3 separate regions of the Homo sapiens genome follow, and regions 1 and 2 are each linked to region 3. The links are contacts of gene promoters, found by promoter capture Hi-C in blood cells and fetal thymus (Javierre and others, 2016). All regions are on one chromosome and are shown on one strand. The core of a region is centred on a gene start or on the middle of the fragment in contact, and the rest is flanking DNA. Distances in the headings are between cores, read along the strand shown. Region 1 holds the start of ZNF668 (zinc finger protein 668). Region 2 holds the start of STX4 (syntaxin 4). Region 3 has its middle 13 kb from the start of KRABD5.

Region 1 (3,188 bases), core at 360-2,859, 620 kb before region 3:
GGCCTCACGGCCAGGAGTGACGTAGTGAGCGGATGAACCCTGCAGAAGTGAGCGCTAATCATATCCTAGGCCTCCTACCGGGCCAGTTCACAACCTGATCCCAACCTACTTTTCCAGCCTCAGCTCCAGCGACAGAGTCCTCCTCCCGGCAGCGACCGAACCTCCAGCCACAATTCTCAATCCTCCACCTCTAGATGCAGTTTCCTGGGCTCGGGGAGCCCTTGCCTGCCTTCTCCAACGGGAAAGCCCCTTTACATCCTTCAAGAACCCCCTTCCCTAGTGCCCTCAGGAATACTTTATGGCAGTAGAGAGGTAAGGGCCCCACGCCGCTCTGGACCTCAGTTTCCTCATCAGTAAAATGGGGTCCCTTAAGTTTGTGGGAGTTTGAAGGGCGGTGGGGCCTACGAAGCGCGCCGAGGAGCCGAGAGTTGCAGAAACCCGGAGCTCCTCGCTCCTCGCAACCGTCTGTACGCGGCGCCCCCGCCAGCCAGGCAGCCCCTGGAGGGCAGGACCCCGGTTATAAGCCTCAGAAAACGTGGCTTCGGAGGACGTGGCAAGGAGGACTGAACGAAGGATGAGGAGATGAACAAATGAATGGACGGAAGGCCGAATGAGGGACAAAGGCTTGCAAGATGGCGTTCTCTAGGACCGCGGGAGTGGTGGCCGGGCCTCAGCAGGGGAGGGGGCCGCCGGCGCCTGGGATCTTGCAGCGCGGGCCACGCGACCGGGACAAAAACCCAAAACATGGCGGGCTCTAGGACCCCCGGGACCACACCGCGCCGGGCCAGCAGCCGCGCGGGCCGAGCCTGGGTGTCCGCAGCCCAGAACCGCGGAGACAGCCGGCGGGTTCTAGGACCTGCTGGGCCCGCAATGCGCCCGGGGCCGCTCACAGCCCGCCCCGCCCGCGCTGCTCGCGCTGGGCCAACCCGGCCCGCCCTCGGCGCCCGCAGGGAAACTGAGGCCAGCTCGGATCGTGGCCGCGTGGGAGCTGCCCGGGGCCCTCGCGGCTTCCCGCCGACGTTTCCTACCTGATGAGACTTGTGCTGACTCCGTGGCGTCGGCGTCGGCTCCTCGCACCGACGGAGCCCGGACCCTGCCAAACAGGGGCCGGCGCTAGGACCCAGCGGGGGGCGGGGAGGTGGGACCGGTGGCGCGGCGAGCGGAAGTGAGGGATCTTCCTCAGCTAGGAAGGAAGGGAAAGTTCCCGGGGAACCTCCAGCCTATGGCGGCAGAGAAGCATCTTGCAAGAGGTCTCTGTGTGTGCTGAGGCAAGGGGACGCCAGGCAGGCTGACGGTATACGCCCGCCTTGTGTTAGTCTGGGGCCAGGTCACCGGCAATGTCTTCAAGAACCAGAAGGTGGGAGGACAAAAAGGCCATGCTCAAGCTCTGCAAAACCTAAGTCCAATTATATTCCACAACATTTCCTTTAATAGCAAGGAGTGGGTTTCACGAAGTTTTCTCCATCTGCCTTGGGAAAAGTCCTCCAGAGAGCCCCACGAAAAGTGTCACCAAAGTACTGTGGCCAGGGCTGTAGAATCTTTTTCTCCCTTTCTGCGCCTATTCAATATGCACCGGAACGATTCTAGCTGCTCTTGCCGGAAGTGTGGCTAGCTTAGCGTGCAAAGACGCCGCGTTGTGACCTACGTGGGCGGAGTCAGCCGTGCAGACCTAGAACTTAGCGCCGGAAGTGTGTCTGCGTAAAACTGCGGCTCGGAGGCGGGACAGGCAGTGCTCCCGAAGCGGAAGTTTCGCGGGGAAGCTTTTGCACCTAAGGACACTTCCTGTTTCCTAGTAACAATAGGAAGTGTCCGTAGAGCTGGGAGTAGACTCCTGGCTCATGCCAGCTGCGCCCTCTTTTCTCTACCTCCTTCCTCTTCCCCCCTTCTCCTTTCCCTCTTTCCCTTCCCTCCCACCTCCCGGGAACCCTGGCTGAGTGTGCGTGTGTGGGAGCGCGAGAGCCCCCCGACAGCCACCCCTTGGGGCGCGCGGCTGCAGTTAGGGTAAGGGTCCCAGTGCGCAGGCGCGCTCTTGTTCGCGGTCCCCAACTGACGCGCCCGCGGCGGGAAGGAGAGGGGGCCGCCGGTGCGAGGTAGGCGTCCTGAGAGGAAATTGGCAGACGAGATGAGTGAGGTCAGAGGACTTCATTGGTGGTTGACTAGGGGAGGGGACTTTTGATCAAAGGGGCTTTGTGAGGTGAGAATTCCGGGGGCAGGTTCAGTGAAGGGGTTTACGGTCGGAGACAGTTGTACTGGGGTCCCATGGGAAGAAGAGTCAGAGTTGGAGAAGGACAAGACGATGTAGGGGGCATGAGAGAGCAAGGGCTTTGGGATGAAGACCGCCTCAGTCAGGGGGTTTGCTGTTACGTGAACTAGAATAACAGGCATTGCCGTGTGTTCTGAGGATTGAGTAACACAATGAATATAGTTAGCACAGTGCCTGGCACATGGTAATATAATACTCTTCATGAGTTGCTGTCATCATCAGTATTAAGAGAGGAGGCAGAAGAAAAAAATGAGAAAGACTGGTGAGGGTAAGATCAGGAGGCATGGGAGAGAAAAGGTAGGCAATGAAGTGACATTACAACCTGGTATTGATGTTATTCCCAAGATGGAAGATAGTTTGAGTTCAAGGGAAGTAGATAAAAGAAGTCGCTAAGAGAGTCTTTTGGGGTTTTTTGTTTTTTTGAGATGGAGTCTCGCTCTGTCACCCAGGCTGGAGTGCTGTGGTGGGATCTCAGCTCACTGCAACCTCCACCTCCCAGGTTCAAGCAGTTCTTCAGCCTCAGCCTCCTGAGTAGCTAGAATTACAGGTGCCCACCACCACGCCCGGCTAATTTTTGTATTTTTAGTAGAGACAGGGTTTCACCATGTTGTCCAGGCTGGTCTTGAACTCCTGAACTCAGGTGATCCACCAGCCTCGGCCTCCCAAAGTGCTGGGATTACAGGCGTGAGCCACCACACCTGGCCCAGTTAAGAGAGTCTTAACTCTCTTAACTCTCTTGTCACAAGGAAAAGAGACCTTGTGACACTGAAATGACTCGGGGTGGTGGGGGAACAAGCCAGCCCTTTCCCTGAAGGAGGCCTCTAACCTCTCCTCTCAGGTCCTCAGCTATTAACTGGAGGAAACAGCTGCTTTTTCAGTGCTTCTCAGCTACTCTGTTTAGCTGAGAGATGAAGTAGGAAGATTT
Region 2 (3,170 bases), core at 276-2,775, 670 kb before region 3:
CAGAAGTCCATAGCAACTCAGTCCCAGGAATCTAGGTTTCCTGACCAGGGCATAGCAGAAAGGGTCCATTCCTTTCCTTGCTTGTACCTTCACAGAAGCTTCCTGGACAGAGCCCTGGGGTCCAGGAGACCTGTTATTCATTCCCGGCTATGCTGAGACTTGCTGAGTGACCTTGGGGACTCCTTCTAGAGAATATAAGTTCCACGAGTGCAGGAATTTTTGTCTATTAGTCCTTGATGTATCTCCAGCCCTAGAACAGTGTTTGGCCCATACTATGTGCCCAAAAAATATCCATTAAATGACTGAATGTTGCTGTGCATGGTGGTGCATGCCTGTAATCCCAGCACTTTGGGAAGCTGAGGCAGAAGGATTGCTTAAGCCCAGGAGTTAGAGACCAGCTTGGACAACATAGTGAGACCGCATCTCGTAAAAATTTTTAAAAATAAAAAATGAGTGAATATCTAGATAGCCAGGATTAGAGAAGTGTCACAGTCAGAAAGCCTGAAGCCTAAAGAAGACCAAGGAACCAGGGGCTTTATCCTCAGATACATGAAAGCCTGAAATTCTGTCCACAAGTATTTATAGAGGGCCCGTAATGTTCTTGGTACTGGGCTAGGAACTCCCCAGATTCAGTTAAGAACAAAGTCATTACCTGGCCTCAGATGCAAGGCAGGGGCTGGGGGGTGTGAGTGGCAGGGAGGCAGCGTGATCAATACAAACACTTTTCTTAGCCTGAGCTGCCCTGACATGGTCTGACGGCTCACAAGGTGGTGAGTGCAGCCGGGCTGCAGTGTTCAAGGAGGGCGCCGGCTGGCCGCCCACCTGTCAGAGGCTGCGCCAGAAGGATGCGGAAGAAGAGATTTCTGCCTTGGCTGAGGTCACTTCCCACCCCCAGATTCCCTGCCCACACAACCCTGCAATTTTCTGACGCTGACGACTCGGATCCTATTATTTCCCGATTTTCAAGGTCCCATGATGCTGACAGCCCCAAATGCTAAGTCGTCAGTCCGCCCACGCCCTGGACCCGAAAGCAATAAAGGCGAGGTCAGCAAGGGTCCTACCACCCACTGCCTCGAAAGGCCTCTGGGGGTGGTCGGCGCGCCCCTCCCCACCTCGCGGGGGCCGTGTGGGCGTCGCTCGGTCGTTGGGGTGCCGGGGACGTCGTGATGAGAACGGCGTCCCAGAGACGGCGGTGACAGAGCCGGGACACGTGACAGTCACAGGGTCACATTCTGCGGTCCACGAGTTTGGGACCGGGCTGGTCACGTGACGCGGTGGGGGCACCATGGGGTGATGTGAGATGCGGGTGTCTCGGATTACGTACAAATGACGTATTCCTACCCCTTTTGGCAACCAGATTTCCGTTGGAAGATGCAACGGTTCCGGTGACGGTAGCAAGTTCTCGCGTCCAGGCATCTCCGCTTCCGCTCGGGGCGCAACAACTTCCGACTCCACCTTCCCAGCCTCGGGCAAGGAAGAGACGCGACCATGTGCGCATGCCCCGAATTTATCACGGAGGGGCGGGGCTGAGGCTGCGGGAGCTGGAGCGGGGAAGAAAAGGGAATTCCAACCTGTGGAACCTTGGGGGGTCCCCGGGGTCGGCGCCTTCCCATTGACTGTGGGCGGTGCAAGGGACGGAGCCTCTGGCGGCTCGTGGGGGTGTTGGGGTCCGCAGGGGGAGGGAGGGGAGTGTCAGAGTGTGAGCGGGGTACGGGAATTCCAAATTTGAGGGCCTCCCGGCTCTGGCGCCGGGGAGGGAGAGCTCAGGCCGCCATGCGGGACAGGACCCACGAGCTGAGACAGGTGAGACGCCAGGGCAGCGGGGATGGGGACGGGCGGACGAACTGGAACGCAGGACTTCTGGTCTTCGGGATAGGGAGGGGTGGCTGATGGCCAGGAAGGAAAGTCCCGGAAGCCTGTGGGTCCTGCGGGGTAAGAGCCGCAGCGAAACGGTGGTGCCAATGACTCCGGGCCTGGCAGGGGGATGACAGCTCGGACGAAGAGGACAAGGAGCGGGTCGCGCTGGTGGTGCACCCGGGCACGGCACGGCTGGGGAGCCCGGACGAGGAGTTCTTCCACAAGGTAAGGGGCTGGGGTCTCCGCCTGGATTCGCGAGGGTGTAGGAGGACCCGAGGAGTAGCGTGGTCTGGAGTACCCCATATCTCTTTCAGCCCTCTCGGTCACCCTCCCCAGGTCCGGACAATTCGGCAGACTATTGTCAAACTGGGGAATAAAGTCCAGGAGTTGGAGAAACAGCAGGTCACCATCCTGGCCACGCCCCTTCCCGAGGAGAGTGAGTGAAACCCCGGCTGCAGGGCGCATGCTCCGCCCCAGGGATTGTGGGGGTTGTAGTTCCACGCAGGTGGTGGCCAGAGTGGTTTGTTGAGGTGGGGGCTGCTGTTTGGGAGTCTTGGCCTTCTCTTATTCAGGCATGAAGCAGGAGCTGCAGAACCTGCGCGATGAGATCAAACAGCTGGGGAGGGAGATCCGCCTGCAGCTGAAGGGTGAGCTCCTGGGACCTCAGACAGATCCTTCCCTCTGATCCTGCCCTGTTGTTGGTATATCTGGGGAGTGTGTGGCCCAGAGAAGCCAGTGATATATCCAGGTCACACAGCAGGCCTGGGTCTAGCATCTGTCTCCTGGCCTCCAGGCCATTGTACTCTCCACAGCACAAGTCCGCCTCTCAGGTTCTTTTATTTACAATGAAACCATTTACTTACACAGTTATCGCTGCCCACTGGGCATTCTTTGGGCAGGGAGATGGAGTTTTGTTAGGTGGCCTCTGCATACCTATGGGAACTCAGTGATGTAATGCAAAGAAAAATAAACTTACTTTCTCCTCTTAGAGGCTCAGCCTTAGTCATTTTATGATAAATTATATTTCCCTAAAAATCCTATGGAGACAAGTACCCCCAATACCCCTGTGTCTTCCCACAGCCATAGAGCCCCAGAAGGAGGAAGCTGATGAGAACTATAACTCCGTCAACACAAGAATGAGAAAAACCCAGGTGGGTTTTTTTTCTCAGAAATGAGGACATTTCAGCAAATGTTTCATGAAGTATTAGATGACAGGTGTATGAAGGAAGGGCCTGCAGAGATCATGGAGTCCAATTGGATGACTTTTCCAAATGGGGAAACTGAGCTCAGAGAGAGAAAGAACTTGCTCAAGG
Region 3 (3,632 bases), core at 17-2,516:
AGATTTATTATTTGTAATGTTTTAAAATTTACATTTAGTAATATAGACATTAATTGTGTCATAAATGTCAGGACCCCAAAACACCCCACCTAATGAATGACTCTCATCTATGGACCTATGGCTGCCCACCTGCTAGTGCGGGTGCTCTCACCACTCCACCCCCAGAGCTTCGATCTGTCTGGTCAACCTTCTAGGATGATGAAGTAGCTGAAGCACTCTTATGATCTGATTGAGGTCTTGGCAAACAGCTTGACTTGTTAGAAATCGAAGGCTGACTTTAAGACGTACTCAGCTGTTTGGCTAAATTGAGGCAGGAGGAAATGTCTTCTCGGCAGATCTACCTTTGTGTCTCTTGCTTTCAGAGTAAAACGTTGTTTCGGGAACAGTAGTTTAATTTAGTCTGTGTTAAAAATCATAATCAGACTACAAATAACGCACGGGGATGAAAATAATTTGCACACATGTTCGTGCATTATATGTGTTTTCAGATCTCTCCTATGGTAAGAAATGAAAAAGTTATGCCTTGATTTTTTAAACTCAGCCATCAGCCATTTTCCCAAGTTAATCTAAATGTTTGCAAGACATTTCAGAAGCATTCTCTGGTGGGGATTACTCCTAATTGTGAATAATCCTACTAGAAGGATGAGCATCTCAAAAGAACCTTTATTCTATTGCAGAAGAGTCAGTCTTCAGGATCTCAAAGGCCTAGGGAAGCTGCTTGAGTTGTGAGGTCTATGGAGGTACATGGGCTTTGGAGTCAGGCAAAGTTGATCCAGAGTCCCAGTCCAGCCACTTAGTAGCTGTAGTGCTTTGGACATGTTCCTTGACTTGGAACAGTTATATAAACCTTGCTGTAAGAAAAGGCAGAATGATACTGACTGCAAAATGGCTCTGGTGTCCATGCCCTTTGGAATATGCTTTTACAGCTGCTCCAACATAGAGGCAGAATCTGTTTCCTGACGCTTGGATCTGGGCTGGCCTTATTTGCTCTGGGCAATAGAAAGCTATCAATATGGCAATGTGACAGTTTGGGGTCTAGGGACATAAGGCCTTGAATGCTTCTGCTTTTTCTTTTAGAACCCTGCCATCTCCATGAGAACAAGCACATGTTAGCCTGCTGGAGGATGAGATCCCACTGGGGAGGAAAACCAAGGTGCCCCAGCTGACACCCAGAAGCAGAGCCACTTAGTCAACCAGCAGCTGACCACACACGCCTGAAGGAGCCCAGCTGAGACCAGAAGAATGGCCCAGTTGAGTCCAGCCTAAATGACTGACCATCCCAATCATGAGCTAATAAGGTTTAGGGTGGTTTTTAATGCAGCAATAGCTAACTGATACATACACCTGCAGTCAGGTTGCCAGGATTCAAATGACAGGTTGGTCACTACTTGTTGTTACCTGGCAAACAGAAGGCACTGTATAAGGTATTGATTTGCTTTTCCCTTTATTTAAAGTGGGGCCTCTTGTTGGATAGGGATAAATTATACAGAAATGCATGTTGACATGCTTGGTGCTTAAACTCACACAGTCCCCACACCATAGGAGGAAACAGCCCGCCATAGCCTAACCATCAGGGCCAAGGGCAAATTGCAAAATAAAAAAAATTTGCTTTTATTCCCTCCACATCCAAACTTTGGAGGTCAAGGCTGTAGACAGATCTGAAGTCAGGGGTTTCCTCCTGAAGCCTGACACTCTTCATTCACTGTCTGACCTTTGGAAGGCTGAGGGAGCCCTGCCCAGAAGCAGGTGGGCAGCAGTGGTCGACCTGTGGACACCTCCTGACTGCAGCCCTGGCTCTCTCACTGGGCACTGCCTCTCCCACCCTTGGGCATGAGGAAAGAGATGGGCAGGATGAGGGTGTTCGCTCTCGTCTGGCAGGAAAGGGGGTCCAGGCCCTCGATTTCCCTGAGGTTAGACGCGCAAGTGCCCTCAGATCTGCTCTTCAATGCGGAAGCCACTGCCCACGTGGGGCTGCTGAGCTCTTTGGATAGAGCTGGTTGGAACTGAGATGTGCTAGAAGTTTAAATACAGAGTGACTTTACAAGATTTAGTACCCCAAACTTAAGAAGCATTCTCTGGTGGTCTTCATTAATAATTTCATATTGCTCACATATTTGAGTGATAATATTTTGGATATATCGGGTTAAGGTATTACCATCAATTTTACCTGTTTTCCTTTCATGATGCCACTAGGCTACTGTAAATGACACATGCGGCTCAATTTTATTCCTATTGGACATTTCTGACTTAGAGGACTCCCTCCATTTTCAAATCTCATGCTGCCTCCACAAGGGACCAGAGGCCATGAAGGTTATGAAATCTGAAATTTTAAAAGAATCGTTATTATATAATTTTCAATTTTACATATTACCTATATTACTCATAAATTGATATAATCTTATGAGCAAAGTTAAATACCAATGTCCGGAGCAGCCCCAGGTCCCAGCACAGGGAGTCAGCCCTGCCTGAAAAGGGCTGCAGACAATCATTCATTCAGGCCTCATTCAGCCACACCTGTGATCGCATCTCCTGTCACTCGGGGGTAAGGGGGCGGGACCTGGAGCCCTATCCATTCAGCGGCGCCGTTGTCGAGCCTGTCCAATCAGGCGCGCAGCCGAAAAAGGGGGCGCACTTCCTGTGTTCTGGGCTGGCCTTTTCCTCTCCCAGGTGCGCTTCCCTGCTTGATCTGTGTACCCTGCTCTTTCTCCTTCATTCCGCAGCCTCCTTTGCCCTGTGACCTGCAGGTACTGGACGGTCCCTAGAGAGGATACCGGGACGCTCCTGAAGCCGCGAGATGGTGAGTCTGCGGGGCTGAGCTTCCCGAGACGCGGCAGGGGTCGGCTGGGAACCGGGCCTGCCCCTGGCGGCTCCGGGGTCGGGGCCCGGAGTCTCCTCGGTCACACGGTGCGGCTCGGCCGGCAGCTGGGACCCCGGGCGCCTCGTCCCGTCCCTGCGCGACGACCTTGGTCCTGCCTTGAGCCCTCTCTGGGCAGTTTCGCGCCCGCAGCCCCGTGTCTCCCCGCGTTGTGCGGTGATGACGGGAGGGGCCGTAGGGGAGAACCCCGGCTCGGGGTTCGGGCGTGGGAGGAGCTGTGGTCCGTGGGGTCCGTAGTCCTTTCTTTCTTTTGTTAAAAATTAAACTGAGGTTTGGTTAAAACGTTAAAGATTTTATCTGAGCAAATAACGACCCGTGAATCAGGAAGCCACAACCATGGATTGTGGTTTGGGGTCCACCGGAGGGGCTTGAAGGAAAGGGTTTAATAAGATGCATGAGGAAGCAAAGCCAATTCAGTAATTGATTGGCTACAATTACGTAGTCCCCTTATTTGAACTGTCCAGGCGGAAATTCCCTGATTATGTAATCAAAGGTTAATTGGTGGTTTGTGGTTGGTTAAGAGTGTTTTCTTTTCCTTTAAGTTATTTCTAAGAAATGCATGAGTTACGTTTTGGTTTTCTTAGGTAGAAACCCAGGGCACTACAGCCACTTCAGTCAAATTGCCTCCCATTTAATTATTTTAACACCCCACAGGGGGACTGATTTTCCCTGCATTTTCCAAATCTATGGCAAGGAGGGTCTCAAATCCACCACCCTGTTCCCCCAACCTAATTCTTCTAAGGCTTTCAGTAAAATT

The links. Contacts are between HindIII fragments. The CHiCAGO score rates a contact against its expected background, and 5 or more counts as called.
Region 1: the fragment with the promoter of ZNF668 here is called in contact with a fragment that was not itself captured in region 3 in 3 of 17 cell types (fetal thymus, naive CD4 T cells and erythroblasts); the score reaches 6.7 in fetal thymus.
Region 2: a contact is called between the fragment with the promoter of STX4 here and a fragment that was not itself captured in region 3, in 2 of 17 cell types (fetal thymus and naive CD4 T cells). The highest score is 6.8, in fetal thymus.

Annotation. Positions count from the first base shown.
Region 1 is chr16:31,072,631-31,075,818 of GRCh38, forward strand. ZNF668 (zinc finger protein 668) reads right to left here and starts at 1,610. Exons shown (of 3, transcript NM_024706.5): 1 at 1,029-1,610. ZNF646 (zinc finger protein 646) reads left to right here and starts at 1,792. Exons shown (of 3, transcript NM_014699.4): 1 at 1,792-2,001. RefSeq lists enhancers at 486-1,286, 578-872, 1,492-2,025, 1,531-1,670, 2,026-2,558 and a silencer at 761-1,220. The HindIII fragment of the contact is 2,318 bases long and covers 1-1,758 here.
Region 2 is chr16:31,032,033-31,035,202 of GRCh38, forward strand. STX4 (syntaxin 4) reads left to right here and starts at 1,526. Exons shown (of 11, transcript NM_004604.5): 1 at 1,526-1,803; 2 at 1,981-2,082; 3 at 2,194-2,293; 4 at 2,430-2,504; 5 at 2,938-3,008. The coding sequence starts at 1,774. RefSeq lists enhancers at 850-1,361, 1,874-2,384. The HindIII fragment of the contact is 4,602 bases long and covers 97-3,170 here.
Region 3 is chr16:31,697,942-31,701,573 of GRCh38, forward strand. It overlaps the pseudogene CLUHP3. Among named protein-coding and RNA genes, the nearest start is that of KRABD5, 13 kb to the right of the region's middle. RefSeq lists silencers at 2,476-2,615, 2,876-3,025. The HindIII fragment of the contact is 5,761 bases long and covers 1-3,632 here.